5 separate regions of the Homo sapiens genome follow, and all the other regions are linked to region 4. The links are contacts of gene promoters, found by promoter capture Hi-C in blood cells and fetal thymus (Javierre and others, 2016). All regions are on one chromosome and are shown on one strand. Each heading gives the region's core, a stretch centred on a gene start or on the middle of the fragment in contact. The rest is flanking DNA. Distances are from core to core; before and after follow the strand shown. Region 1 holds the start of C1R (complement C1r). Region 2 overlaps CLSTN3 (calsyntenin 3). Region 3 holds the start of IFFO1 (intermediate filament family orphan 1). Region 4 holds the start of GPR162 (G protein-coupled receptor 162). Region 5 overlaps C1RL-AS1 (C1RL antisense RNA 1).

The links. The method cuts DNA at HindIII sites, captures the fragments that hold promoters and counts their contacts. A CHiCAGO score of 5 or more calls a contact.
Region 1: a contact is called between the fragment with the promoter of C1R here and the fragment with the promoter of GPR162 in region 4, in 5 of 17 cell types (activated CD4 T cells, total B cells, naive CD4 T cells and 2 more). The highest score is 6.4, in activated CD4 T cells.
Region 2: a contact is called between a fragment that was not itself captured here and the fragment with the promoter of GPR162 in region 4, in 3 of 17 cell types (activated CD4 T cells, neutrophils and naive CD8 T cells). The highest score is 5.6, in activated CD4 T cells.
Region 3: the fragment with the promoter of IFFO1 here is called in contact with the fragment with the promoter of GPR162 in region 4 in 12 of 17 cell types (activated CD4 T cells, total CD4 T cells, non-activated CD4 T cells and 9 more); the score reaches 20.2 in activated CD4 T cells.
Region 5: a fragment that was not itself captured here is called in contact with the fragment with the promoter of GPR162 in region 4 in 13 of 17 cell types (activated CD4 T cells, total B cells, total CD4 T cells and 10 more); the score reaches 12.4 in activated CD4 T cells.

What each region holds. Positions count from the first base shown.
Region 1 is chr12:7,091,077-7,093,776 of GRCh38, forward strand. It overlaps C1R (complement C1r), which reads right to left and starts at 1,369. Exons shown (of 11, transcript NM_001733.7): 1 at 1,311-1,369; 2 at 376-604. The coding sequence starts at 1,312. RefSeq lists an enhancer at 1,417-1,711. The HindIII fragment of the contact is 12,054 bases long and covers 1-2,700 here.
Region 2 is chr12:7,138,442-7,141,141 of GRCh38, forward strand. All of the region lies in intron 8 of CLSTN3 (calsyntenin 3), which reads left to right. Among named protein-coding and RNA genes, the nearest start is that of CLSTN3, 9.4 kb to the left of the region's middle. The HindIII fragment of the contact is 3,167 bases long and covers 1-2,700 here.
Region 3 is chr12:6,554,627-6,557,326 of GRCh38, forward strand. IFFO1 (intermediate filament family orphan 1) reads right to left here and starts at 1,416. Exons shown (of 10, transcript NM_001193457.2): 1 at 631-1,416. The coding sequence starts at 1,403. NOP2 (NOP2 nucleolar protein) reads right to left here. Exons shown (of 16, transcript NM_001258308.2): 16 at 2,245-2,700. The coding sequence ends at 2,367. RefSeq lists an enhancer at 1-393 and silencers at 854-1,033, 1,144-1,383, 1,434-1,593. The HindIII fragment of the contact is 7,963 bases long and covers 1-2,700 here.
Region 4 is chr12:6,820,465-6,823,164 of GRCh38, forward strand. GPR162 (G protein-coupled receptor 162) reads left to right here and starts at 1,357. Exons shown (of 5, transcript NM_019858.2): 1 at 1,357-1,436. It overlaps CD4 (CD4 molecule), which reads left to right. Exons shown (of 10, transcript NM_000616.5): 10 at 1-335. RefSeq lists an enhancer at 368-1,340. The HindIII fragment of the contact is 21,739 bases long and covers 1-2,700 here.
Region 5 is chr12:7,115,730-7,118,429 of GRCh38, forward strand. It overlaps C1RL-AS1 (C1RL antisense RNA 1), which reads left to right. Exons shown (of 12, transcript NR_026947.1): 8 at 1-2,700. It also overlaps a transcript of RBP5 not described here. Among named protein-coding and RNA genes, the nearest start is that of C1RL, 7.9 kb to the left of the region's middle. The HindIII fragment of the contact is 2,416 bases long and covers 82-2,497 here.

The DNA of each region.
Region 1 (2,700 bases), core at 119-2,618, 270 kb after region 4:
CCTCATGTCCCTGTGTTCCTGTTGAAGCAGGCAGCCATGTCAATCATTTCCTTGGAGACAGGGAAGCTGAGGCACAGTGGTTTCCCAAAGACTCTCAGCTAGACAGCAGATGGGGAAGGTTTTCCTGACTCAGTGGATGTTGAATTTCCTGAGTGGGTCCTGTCCCCTTCCTTCTCTGTGCTTCTCCCCTCAGTGCTCACCGAGGGCCTCTACACCAGTGAGCGCCCATCCAGGGCATCCCCGGGCTCTCAGAGAGGCCGTTGGCCATCAGCTCTTGTGGGGCTGGGCTGTGTCTGGGGGTGTGCATGCCATACAGATCCCAGATCCCAGAGGGCCCAGTTTTGTCTCCCCTCTGCCCGCCCATCCTGCCCCTACCTTGACATAATCATAGAAGCAGCCTTCAGAAGGCTCCAGGTCAAACTGCTGGAAGACGAGCTTCACCCTGTATCCCGTGGGGACTGTGATCACAGTGGTTGTTTCAAAGTTGTTGGGGTAAGGCTTGGGGAACAGAGGGGAAGTCACCTCCCCAAATAACTTCTGAGGGATGGGAATGGAGCCTCCTGCCCTGCAGAACAGGGCCGGCACCAGGAGGTACAAGAGCCACCTGCCAAAACAAAAGAGAGTATCTGGAGCTGGAGGGGTTCAGCACTCTTGCCATGTGGGCAGTGGCTGTGGCAGGGGATGAGACGGCCATACCACTGGGCATTCTCCTCTCTGCCCACCCTGAACCTCACAGACATGTTCTCAGCAGGGGTGCGTGGGTGGGGAGGATGGCCTGTGCAGCTGCTGCATCGGGTCACTCTCCAGGGCAGTGTCCAGTCCAGAGGCCACCACACTCCCCTCACACTCCCTTTCCAGCCTCCTCCCCTGCCCGGACGCGTCCCTCCCCTCCCCTTCCAGGAATAGGACTGGCTTGGGACCAGTTAATGGAGGGTGAGGGTTTCCACCCGTGGGTCTCTGAAAGGGCTCCCACAGGTTCAGCAAGAGCGTCTGGGAGAAACCATCTGTGGAGTGGGGGACACAGGCACAGAGTGTCCCGTCCTGGGCAAGGGGTCCCCTCCTCTCGCTGCTCCCTGCCAAGAGCCCAGAGGGAAGAAAGGACCATGGCATGAGCATCTATGTATGAAGTCTCCTCTGATCCCTAGGAGGAGGGATGGGGCGTGTGTTGTGTGTGTCCACGCGTGTGCACAGTGGAACTGATGAGGTGTGTGAAGAGAGAAGGGTGTTCCTGTCTCCCTGAATTGCCTCCCATGCCCTGGCTTCTCCCCTGGCTTCTCCCTCCCACCTGGTTGCCCATCACCCTTACTCACATTTCTCAAGGCCCGTGTTGAATCCTGGGCTCTCCCGACAGCGTCTTCGTGCACTGTGTGCAGAGGGAGCCCGCGTCATGCACAGCAGGGAGGGGAGGGTTTTCTGTGGAGTGGAGGGGGGACCATTCCCGGAGGAATGTTGGAGGGAATGAACTATTTGCATAAACAAAAGATCTGAGTTTCCACTTTAATTTAGTTTTGGTTTTGAAATCCCTGTTTGTGGTGCCACCTGCTGGTCGGTGAGGGAAAGGGCTAAGGAGACGGGAGTCTGGCTTTTTAGGGCCCGGGGAGCCTTGGGTTGGAGGCCCAGATGTCTCAGTCTCTAAATCTGATCAGCTTCTCCCTTCTTCCAAGACTTTCCTGGGGGCTGCTGCTGTGTTTACAAGGTTCCTACCAAAGCAGTGGGAGACCACAGGTGGTGGTGAATTCTCTTTTCTGGGCTGTCCTTTCCCATTGACCCTGTTCTTCCTGCCCTCATTCAGCCCACAGCCCTGGTCCAAGAATGGCCCGGGTTTCAATGCCCAGGACGTAATGATAGGAACACTGGGGCAGAGGAGGGTGTGTGGGAGCGGGCAGAGGAGAGAGGAGCTTGGTTGCCTTGGGGCCCTGGCCTGCTTTAGCCATGAATGACACTTGGACATAGAATAGGGTTGGCCATGTCAGGGCAACCCTAAATCAGCCCTGGGTTTGAGACCCTCTGGGGCGGCTGCGGAGGGGGTAAAATGTCCCCATCTCCTTAGCATCTGCTCAACACAACTGCCAGGGCTGAAGCTAAGGATGCGGGTGTGGAGCAAGAGGGACTCGGTTTTTCTGAGATGAAGCCAGGCCCCTGGGAGGGAGGAGGGACCCTAGTCTCTCCTGTCCATCAGGCCATAGTGTCCTGCTTTAAAACTTTTGCTCTTGGCCACGTGTGGTGGCTCATGCCTGTGATGCCAGCACTTTTCGAGGCCAGGGTGGGAAGATCTCTTGAGCCCAGGAGTTCGAAACCAGCCTGGGCAACATAGTGAGATCTCGTCTCTAAAAGTTAAAATAAATTAAAAAACAATTTCATTGTTTTTGGAAGGCTTTCTTCATCAACTCTCCATGGCACCAAATATCTGATGGCACTTCATCCCACGGAGGGGCTTGGGCTGCAGAGCAGGACTCTGCGTTCTTAAGCCTTTGTAGGCTGTTCTGCTTGTTTCCCTTATTAGATGAATCCCTCCAACCTCCACCCTTCTGCCCCCACCCCCGTTCATCCATTTATGGGCTACCTGTTTAATGTGCAAGACACTTTCCCAGGCAATAGATTGCAAGAATTCACAGAGCTGATGCAGTTCCCCATCAGGCAGTGACCACATCATCAGTAGTTAGACAGCAGGCACACAGAAGGTGCAAGATCCACCAACGC
Region 2 (2,700 bases), core at 133-2,632, 320 kb after region 4:
GATTGGGTTTGAGTCCTGCCAAGGGAATTTGCTGGCTATGAAATCTTGGTTAATATGTGTAAACCTCAGGGTTAAAACAACCCTGTTATATAGGGATAAAAAGAATTCTATATCCCAGAGTCGTTAGGATTAAATGATGTAATAGACCGTTGTAGACTGAAAAGCACTCCCTCTGTATATGTTAATTCTCACTATTATCAGCCCTGATTATGGAGGGATAAATAAAAATGGATAAAATATTTAAAATCCTCTCTTGAGCCAACAGTTGCAGCCTCTTCATTATTTATTCTCCAGGCTGACCACAAGGACCAGTGAGGACTAATTTGAGTTTTCACCTCCTTCTGTTTCTCTTGCAAGTCCTGGTGGAGTGGCTGAGTAAGCAAACGGCAAAAAAAAAAAAAAAAAAAAAAAAAAAGCATTAGAAGAGAGAAAAGAAGTGCCCAGATAATTTATAAACTAGATAATTGAGGGCTGTCTACAAAAGTTTTGCTGTCTGTGGCACTCTTTTAAAGAGACAGTCTGTCATTTGCTGTTTCTTGATTCCCCCCTCACACTGCAAATATTGGTAATGTTACCCTTGCTATCTTTCTTCAATTCACCCTCATTTAATCAACCAGTATCTATTAAATACAACTAAGTCTCTGTCATTCAGCTAGGTTCTGGGAATACAATGAATGAAACAAAATCTTTGCCATCATTCAACTTACATTTCAGTTGGGGAGATAAAGTTTTAAAAAGTAAATAGACATGTAAAATGATAAATTGTGAGAAATGCTCTGAAAGAAGCAGGCAAGGGACTGGGGCAGAGCATGGCGGGAGGCAAGGAAAGGAGAACTTGCCTTAGATTGGGTGCTCCTGGGGGACCTGACTGAGGGGAAATTTAAGCCTAGTGCTAAAGGATGAGAAATAGCTGGGTGTGGGAAGAGTGTGGGAAGGTTCCAGGAAGAGGGAAGAGCATATGCAAAGGCCCTGAGGCAAGAAAGAGCTCAGCATGTTCCAAGCATGGAAAGAGGGCCAGTGCGGTTGGAGTACAGTGAACAAGACTGGAGATAAGTTGCAGAGATGGGCAGTGATCAGGTTGTACAGTGGACTTTTTCAGCAGGGTTAGTCTAGATTTTTGTCATATGAGAGACAGGAAGTGTTTTTTGAAGGATTTTAAAGCAGAGGCATGACCTGATCAGATTTACATCATCATTATTATTATTATTATTATTATTTTTTTTTTTGAGATGGAGTCTCACTCTGTCACTAGGCTGGAGTGCAGTGGTGCGATCTTGGCTCACTGCAACCTCGGCCTCCCGGGTTCAAGAGATTCTCCTGCCTCAGCTTCCCTAGTAGTTGGGACTACAGGCGTGTGCCACCACGCCCAGCTAATTTTTGTATTTTTAGTAGAGATGGGGTTTCACCATGTTGGCCAGGATGGTCTTGATCTCTTGACGTGATCCACCCACCTTGGCCTCCTAAAGAGCTAGGATTACAGGCGTGAGCCACTGCGCCTGGCCAGATTTACATTTTAACAAGATCCCCTTGGCAACTGTGGGATGGTTGTATTGAAGGTATCTAATGGTGACAGTAAACAGGACTGTTGCAACAGTCTTCATGAAAGGGGTTGGAGACATGACTGATGTGTGGCAATGGAGACGGAGAGACCTGCACAGAAACCTGCAGCTTGTAGCTCTGTTTGGACCTGGGATCAACAGCACCTGCTAATGGACTGGATGTGGAGGCTGAGGGAAAGGGAAGATCAAAGTTGTCTCCTACGTCAGCCACTTGAGCAGCTAGATGGATGATGGAGCATTTATACTGCCTGGGGAGAAACTGAGGGAGTTGGGAAAGGGCATGGACTTGCACCTTACACGTGTTAAATGTGAGATACTTGTGGGCATCCAAGTGGAGAATCTGGCATTCAGAGGAGAGTTATGGGCTGGAGATGTGGATTTTGGAGTTACCAGTGTATAACTATGGTACCCAAACCCATGGCAACAGATGAGGTGACTTCTAGGAAAAGAGTGTAGAGAGGAAAGAGAAGAGGGCCTAGGTCTGAGCCTTGAGGGACCCCAACATTTGGAACTGGATGAGGCAGAGTACTCTCTGCCCCTTTTTCCTCTGACCATCCCCCATTCCATCTTGGCTGGCCCTAGGAGAGACTGCAAAGGGAAGCAATATTTATTTTAGTGCTTAATGTTGGGTTAGAAGCTATCCTAGAGATAACCTGTGATCCCAGCTACTTGGGAGGCTGAGAGGATCACTGGAGGCCAGGAGTTGGAGACCAGCCTAGGCAACATAGTGATAGCTCATCTCTAAAAAATAAAAAAATTAGCTGGACATGGTGGCACATACCTGTAGTCCCAGCTACCCCAGAGGCTGAAGTGGGAGGATTGCTTGAGCCGAGGGGTTTGAGGCTTCAGTGGGCTATGATTGCACCACTGCACTCCAGCCTGGGGGACAGAAGGAAACCCCATCTCTAGAGTTTCCAGTGCCTTACACACATATGTAATACATAAGTTCGGGGGGCAGGGAATTTATTCATGAAAGTGTGTTACTCCTCTTAGGAATATTTATAGCTTTAACGATTTACCTGAAGAGTGGAATCTTTGCTACTAGGTTGGTTGCCTGATAGATTTTGGACAAGGATGTTATTCCTCGAGCTGGATAGGCAGCAAAGCACTAGTAAGCCCTGTTGGTAGAACTGGGAATAAA
Region 3 (2,700 bases), core at 166-2,665, 270 kb before region 4:
CAAGATTCCCCTGTCAGCCCTGCTCTCCACCCTCACCCTAGTGAATTCCCTTCACTCTTTCTTTTCCCAGTTTGTTGACCTACTCAAGCAATGGCTTGAGGTCCCGGAGCTTTTCCTATGAAACCACAGCAGGTACCTGGTTTCCATCAATATTCTTTGGGAAACCTTGGGGTGTGAAAGAATCACTCGTTGCAAGGTACAGCCCCTCCCTCACCAGCCCCTTCCAGTTTCACTCAATTTAGTCTCCCAAATTTACGCTATATCCTTGCCTCCTACTTTTGAAGTTTATATCCCTAACCTGCCCCAGGGCTGAGACCGGTAGGGCAGAGCCCCAGTCCCTTTCACACCGCACAAAACCCGCAGTTAAGCCTGGATGGCAGAGACAAGCCGGAAAAGTAGGAATCCCCCCGTGTTCCGCTCCCAGCGTCCTTCTTCCTGTCACGAGCAGGGCTTCTGCATTCTCTGCGGATTCTAGTCTCCCTGCATCCAATTGCTTCCAAGCTCCTCATTACACAGCACAAACTTTACTCTCATTCTTTTCACCCCTGATTCTTCGGAACCCACACCAACTCGCGGCCCGTTGTGAGTGGTATGACACAGAGAGACCTGTCCCCCTTTCCCAATCCCTACCTCCGCTTGTACTCGTCCCGCTCCCGCTTCACTTTGGCCAGCACGTTGTAGAGAGCGCGGATCTCGGGCGTGATGGTGTCGATCTGGACGCCCACCCCATCCGGGTGCACCCACGACAAGCCAGGCCCTTGCACCAGAGTGGGCTCCAGTCCCGGCCCGAGCCGGCGGGCGTGCGAGAACGACCAGATGGTGCCGGGCATGAAGCGGGCCGACGAGGAATAGGTGGTGGAGGTGGAGGTGGAGGACGACGAGAGGCTGGCCGCGGAGGGCGCGAGGGGGCCGGCCGGGGAGCGCGCGGGCGAGCCCAGCACGCGCGCCGAAGGGCTGCAGACAGCGGCCGGCCGGGCGCCCAGCTGCAGCCCCAGGGGCCGGATGGGGCTGACGAAGCCGGTCTGCACTGCCTGGTCGCGACGACCCAGGCCCCGCCGGCCCTGCTTACCCTCCTCCAGCGCTTGCTGCAGTTGCTTCTCCAACAGCCGGTTCCGGCGCTCCAGCTCATGCACCTTGGCCAGGAAGCAGCGGAACCGGAGGTTCAGGGTCTTGAGCACGTTGATGTTGGAGCCCAGGTCATTGCGGAGGGCCATGGCGGCAGGCGGGGCCGGGCCCGGCCCGGGCGGCGAGTAGGCAGCAGGGCCGGCCGGCGAGAGAGGCGCCGGGGGCAAGTCTCCTCCCCCGGCGAAGTGGTCGCCTCCCAGTGAGTCCCCCAGTGGCCCGGCCAGGCCCTGCTGCTCCTGCTGCAGGAGGAAGAGGTTGGGGCCGAATAACGGATTCATGGCTGCGCCTTCTGCTGGGAGATGCAGACCGGTGCAGGAGCAGGGATGGAAGGCGAGCCAGAAGAGCCAATGCGGCGCCGGCGGGACAGAGCCGACCAATCAGGCGGCTCGGCAGCGGGGCAGAGGTCAGGGGGCGGGCCGAGGGGAAGCCAATGACAGGCTCCAATTGGAGGCCGGACCCTGGACCTTTCCGGGTCTGAGGCCGAGCCCTGTGATGAGGGGAGCCACCGCCTGGACTCCAGCCGGGGTGGCGTAAAGCCCAGGACCTCCAGTACCCCATGGGTTCTGGTGGCAAGCCCATCTCCCCTACACGACTTTTTTTTTTTTTGAGACCGAGTCTCACTGTCGCCCGGGCTGGAGTGCAGTGGCGCGATCTTGGCTCACTGCAACCTCAGCCTCCCAGGTTCAAGCGATTCTCCTGCTTCAGTCTCCCGAGTAGCTGGGATTACAGGCACCCGCCACCACACCCGGCTGATTTTTTGTATTTTTAGTAGAGACGAGGTTTCGCCATGTTAGCCAGGCTGGTCTCGAACACCTGACCTCAGGTGATCCACCCGCCTTGGCCTCCCAGAAAGTGCTGGGATTACAGGCATGAGCTAGTGTGCCCCGCCTTCCCCTACACTTCTATTGCCCTCCTCTCCCCGGAGTTCAATCACCCCTAGCTCTGACTCCAGGGCTTTCCCTTCCTGGGAAAACCCAAGGATGCAGGAGCCTAAAACTGACCTTATTTCTCAGTAGCACCCAACCATTCCCTCTCCTCAGAAGATCCCAGTCCCACCTCCCATCTTTACCCTTAAAGCGGCAAAGGCAGCACCCAGTTCCCTCAAAAATACTCAGTGGCCAGAGGTTTTAAAATGTGTATTAAATTTCATGGGTATGCACAGTAGAGAAGGCATCCTCACAGAGGCAAGAGTTCCAACCTGGTGACAATGGCAGTGAGCCACCCGTCTAGTTTTCAACCATCTAAGATAGCAGCAGCTGGCTGTTGCCCCTGGACTGAGATTTCTTCCTCTTTGCTGGTGGGGGGCGGCTGGAACGGATGGGAGACACAGTGGGAGGCTGAGGCCCCTTGGGGGTATCATTCTGTTTCTGGAAGGCAGCTTTCTCAAAAGGCTGCTCTGGCAACTGCTGCTTCTCAACCCCCTTGGCCCTTCCAAGGGGCTGATGATGGTCCTTAGGTTTCAGGGTGGCCTGAGTCTTGGATGGGGATAACACAGCCGGTGTTTGTGTGTCTGTGCCCTTGGGAGGGGCATTCTGCCTGAGGAAAGCAACTTTCTTGGAGGACTGTAATTTAGGT
Region 4 (2,700 bases), core at 107-2,606:
ACCCTCTAAGGGACCTCAAAGGTGATTGTGCCAGGCTCTGCGCCTGCCCCACACCCTCCCTTACCCTCCTCCAGACCATTCAGGACACAGGGAAATCAGGGTTACAAATCTTCTTGATCCACTTCTCTCAGGATCCCCTCTCTTCCTACCCTTCCTCACCACTTCCCTCAGTCCCAACTCCTTTTCCCTATTTCCTTCTCCTCCTGTCTTTAAAGCCTGCCTCTTCCAGGAAGACCCCCCTATTGCTGCTGGGGCTCCCCATTTGCTTACTTTGCATTTGTGCCCACTCTCCACCCCTGCTCCCCTGAGCTGAAATAAAAATACAATAAACTTACTATAAAGATGCTCTTCGTGTGTGTGTGTGTGTGTGTGTGTGTGTGTGTGTGTGTGTGAGAGAGAGAGAGAGAGAGAGACCCCTTCTCTGGGGACCAGGAATCTTCTGGTCTTTGGGGTCGGACCCAGAGGAGAGGTTGCTGGGCGTGCCCCAGGAAGGAGATGAAGTTTCCCTGGAGAGGGAAAAATTCTGTGGAGGCTGGCTACCCACCTCCACAACCCACAGGGCTCTGTGTGGGCCTGTGTGTGTGTGAGGCTGAGACTCTGTAATTACATGTGTGTGATATACCGTGGGGGAGAGACTCAGGGTTGTGTGAGCTCTCCTGGTGTATGTGTGTGGCAGAGAAAAAGGACTATGAGAAACTGTAACATGTGTGTGCAAATTGTATCCCCAACATATGTGTTTGTGTTCCAGGAGGAGGAGGCAGAGTGTGTGTGTCTGTGTGCATGCATGCGCCCACATCCTTTTAGCTTGTGCACAACCACCCCCAACTCCACAAGCAGCCCCAGTGTGCACCACAAGCCCCCTCACTCCCAAACCCAAGGCCCAGCCCTCACACAGATACACACAGTGACACACGCTTCCTCCTCCCCGAACAGCTAGCTCCTCAGTCCCCAACAACACCAGCTGCCTCTTGGAGCTTGTGTTCGTGTTGAAAACGGGAAGGGGTGGGGGCAGGACATGAACCATTTCACCAATGAAGCCGGTTCCCAGCCATCCTCCTCACCGCCCTCCCTCTCAGCGCCTTCCTTGCCCCTCCTCCCCGAGTCACCACCGTCCAGTTCCCCACCCTGCACTCGTTTCCCGCCCCCCCCCGCCCCCCACAAAGCTGTCCTGCCTTCCCTCTGGCCTGGGCTCACTGGCAGGACGACCCCGGGAGAGAGGGTCCTGGAGAGTGAGAGGGGCAGAGACCGAGTGAGCCGTGGGCTGAGCCTGGGAGGCCGGGACTGAGGGGGAGGAGGGAGGCCCGGGGGAAGGGAGGGAGGGAGAGAGGGAAGGAGGGAGGAGGGCGGGCGAGCTGGAGCCGGCAGGCAGCGGGAGCCCGAGAGAGCCGCGTCGGGAGTGCGGTCTCCATGGCAGTGCTGGGCGCAGCCGGAGAGAGGTAAGACGACCCCTGCCTGCCCCGTCCCCTGTGTTGCCTCCCTTTCCCCCTCAAGCTGCCTCCTCTCCCCTAGGCCGGCCCCTCCTCCCCAGCCACCTGCTGTTTCTGCCCTGGAGAACCTGGAGGGGGACAGGAGGGAGGAGCCGCCTGACCTTACCCCTTCACCCCAAAGGGCGAGGGACCCCGTCGGCCAGGGAACCTCCCAGATCCCCCTTCCCACCTTCCTCTGATCTCTCCCTGTCCTTCACCTCCCTCTCTCTGTCCTTCACATCTTTCCTGCCTCCTTCCCTCTCTGACTCCCTATCTCTTTCATCCTGAGCCCACCAGCTGGGCCTGGGTGGAGGTGGGTGGGAAGGGGTCCAGGGCTGTAGGAGAGGACACTGGGGGCTGCTCTTGGCCAAGTCCCTCCACCTCCCTCTGGCTGGCCATTGCCATGGCAACTAGGGTGTACTGGGCTCCGGAGGGAAGCCAAGGGTGGGGGTGGACCAGGACCTCTTGGGGAAAGCAAGGGTCTGAGCTGCTTCCATGGGAAACAGACCCTTTCACTGCTGTGCCCCATTTTTACCCCACTTACCCTAAAGCCATTATGTGCTTCCTTACAGCCCCACTCTGTTCAGGGTTTCACCCGATTCCCTTACCCCCCTTCCCAGGGCTCACTGAAGCTCAGCATCACGCACTAAAACTGGGACCATCCTTCCTCCCATGAGAGGGAAACTGAGGCTCTGGGCCAGGGAGGAAGAGTCAAGGTCTCCCCACGGGGAGTCAGCACCTTATTGAACATTTGGCTTTTCTTCTCAGCCTCCTATTCCCTGCTCCCTCCCTCCCTCCCTCCTCCAGTCCCTCCTCCCTCCAAAGCCTCCTCTCCAGGGGGTTTGAGCTTTTCCTGCTATTTTCAGATACTACCACTTTGCCCCCTCTTTCTCTTCTGCTCAAACTCTCCTCCTTCTCCCTAGTTCCCCCTCTTTCCATTTCTGGATGCTTCTGATGTCAGCGGTTTCCCCGCCTTCAGGTTCCCTAGCACCCCCTTCGGTCCCAGACTCCTTTCTCCCATTTTCCCAGATATGGGTAGCTGGAGGGTGATCACCCAGGTTTGGGGAAGTAGGGGCTAAGCACCAAGACCCCTGCATCCAGGAGACCGGCAGGTAGGGGAGGAAGGCTGTGATGCCATATCCCAGTTCACTGTGAACCCTCAAGAGGAAACCAGTCTTGTGTCTCCCATCAGTAGTTCTGAAGAGACATTTAGGGACTTGAAGATAGGGGTGGA
Region 5 (2,700 bases), core at 40-2,539, 300 kb after region 4:
GGGGAATTCATGAAGAGAAGAAGTTTAATTGACTCACAGTTCTGCGGGCTTAACAGGAAGCATGACTGGGAGGCCTCAGGAAGCTTATAATCATGGCAGAAGGCGAAGGGGAAGCAAGGACCTTCTTCACATGGCAGCAGGAGAAAGAGAAGAAGGGAGAAGTCTACACACTTTTAAACAACCAGATCTCATGAGAATTCCATCGGGAGACAGCACTAGGGGGATGGCACTAAACCATTAGAAACTGCCCCCATGATCCAATCACCTCTCACCAGGCCCCTCCTCCAACACGTGGGGATTACAATTCCACATGAGATTTGGTTGGGGACATAGAGCCAAATCCTATCAGCTGGTATCCTCCTTTTTCCAGGCTTTAGATATGGCACAACCTGATGGCTTCTGCATAAAGCCTCCTCTCATCTGCATCTCTCCACCTCACTCACCCTCTTTTCAGCAAAGAACCCTCTGGCTCTAGTTTCACTGTGGTGGTCCTGGGAGAGGTAGAGAAGACCCAGAGGCTCCTTACCCTGGGAGGTCAAACTGACCATCCAGGTTTGGCTCTTCCCTGCTGGTGTGTCTAGAACACCATCTTCCCCTTATTGCTGTGGACTTCAGGGCTCTGCTGCTCTGTCCTCCACAGAACTTGTCAATCAGCTTCCTACCAGCTAAGATCTGGTGCTGTCTGATATATCCTCCCTGCGGCTTGTCACTCATGCTGTCTAATGGCGTGAGGTGCATTGAGTTGTATTCTGATGTCTTTGTCCTTTTGAAGCCACAGAGTAAGGTCACACAACTTTGAAACGAGCAGGGTACCATCTGAAGATGCTGGACATTCCTTTTAACAATTACCTAGGGGAGAGGCAGTCCTCAGACAGGACTCAGGTGGGTGGGCCTCAAAGAGGAAGGGAAAGGGGGCAGCTGCCTGCCTCTGAACTTCACTCTCTAGACTCGTGGAAGGGTCTAGCTTAGAGCTAGGATGGGAGGGCTGTGAGCACTGAGGATGGAGTCATGCCTTTTTGTGACTGGACACATTTTTACTGCCCGAAGTCATCTACTGCCCCCACCCCCCAACCCCATTCTTCTGCCCACTTAGCGAATATTGAGGTTATGGTCAGGATGGGGTCATTTGCAATGAAATTCAAGGTTGAGACTATGTTGCAGTTATCTGTCTGCTTGTAAAAAGTCACCCCCACATTTTGTTTAAAACAGCAAGTATGTACTATTTCACACAGTTTCTGTGGGTCAGGAATCCAGAAGCGGCTGAGATGGGTAGTTTAGGATCAGGGTCTCTCACAAGGCTTTGGTCCAGGTGCAGGCTGCAGTCCTCCAGAGGCGGGACTGGGGCTGGAGGTCTGCTTCCAGACGGTCACTCACATGGATGTGGGCAGGCGGCCTCAGTTCCCTGCCACATGGCCCTCCTCATAGGACGCTTGAGTGTCCTCGCGGCATAGCAGCTGGCTTTCCCCAGAGTGACCCAAGGTGGAAAGAACAAGGCAGAGGTGACAGTGTCTTTTATAAGCCAGCCTTGGAAGTGACGTAGCATCATTTCTGCCTTATTCCATTGGTCACACAGACAACCCGATGTGGAAGGAGACATCACAAGGACAGGAATACTGGGAAGCAGGTATTGTTGGTGGCTGTCTCGGACGCTGGTTCTCATAGAAGTAGATGTATTATTTTAGTACAATAAGTGCAGACGATCAGCTAGCAGGATGTTATTTTTGCTGGGTATGGTTGTATTTCAGGTGCATTTACCCAAATCCAGAGTACCTTTGGGGGCTCTGACCCTCTCCTCCTCCACCTTGAGATCTGTAGAGGCCTCTCGTTCATCCCACCAAGAGCAGGACTGGACAGATGAAAGCATGGCTTACAGGAGGCCAACACAATAGGAGGTAGGGCTTTGGGAAGACAGCATAGGTTTCAAAAGAACCAAGAAGCTGTTGAAAAGGAGAGCAGATGGGCAGGGAAGACAAGTCCCAGATAGAATGCCCTTTGCAACCTAGGGGGAGCTGACCACAGTGTGCATCCTGACACTCGAAGACAAGGTCTCCATCAGCAGATTGCCCAACAGAACAAGTTCAGAGCCCAGAGATCCCAGTTCCAGATCTCAGATCTCCCACACCCTGTGGGCTCTGTGTGGACTTTCGTCCTGAAACAAAGTCCTTTAGTAAAGGACTCTTTAAATTCACTCCATCTGTGCTTTGCTTGCCAATAGCAGGGTGCGTCTGTTACATACTGGACTATCCCTTCCTTCAATATGTTCATGGCTGAGGCTGCATTTGTGCCTCAGATAATCAAGGTGAGTATAACTCTCTGTTCTGTTTCCCTTTTGTTTCCTCCAAGACTTTAATAAACCCTCATTCAAGAGGCCCACCTTGTCCCACCTGTGCTTCTCAGAAAAGAAGGAGTGGTGGGGAGACAGGCTGGGGTGGGGGCTTTGCCACCTGGCTGCCCCTTCACCTGTGGGTTCTTGCTCCAATGAGGACCCAGCAGGATAAGCTTTAGTTTCATTAAGGGTGACAATAGTTTCCTTACAGCTGGGTCAAGGATATGAGCGAGCCTCTTCCGAAAACAGCCGGGAAGGGAGAGGAATCCAAGAGGAGGAGCAGGTGGGAAAGACAAGACAGAAGGTGGATCGGGACCAGGCCTGGGAGGGAGCACAGGCACACAGAAGTGAAAGAATTCGCCTGAGGTTACACG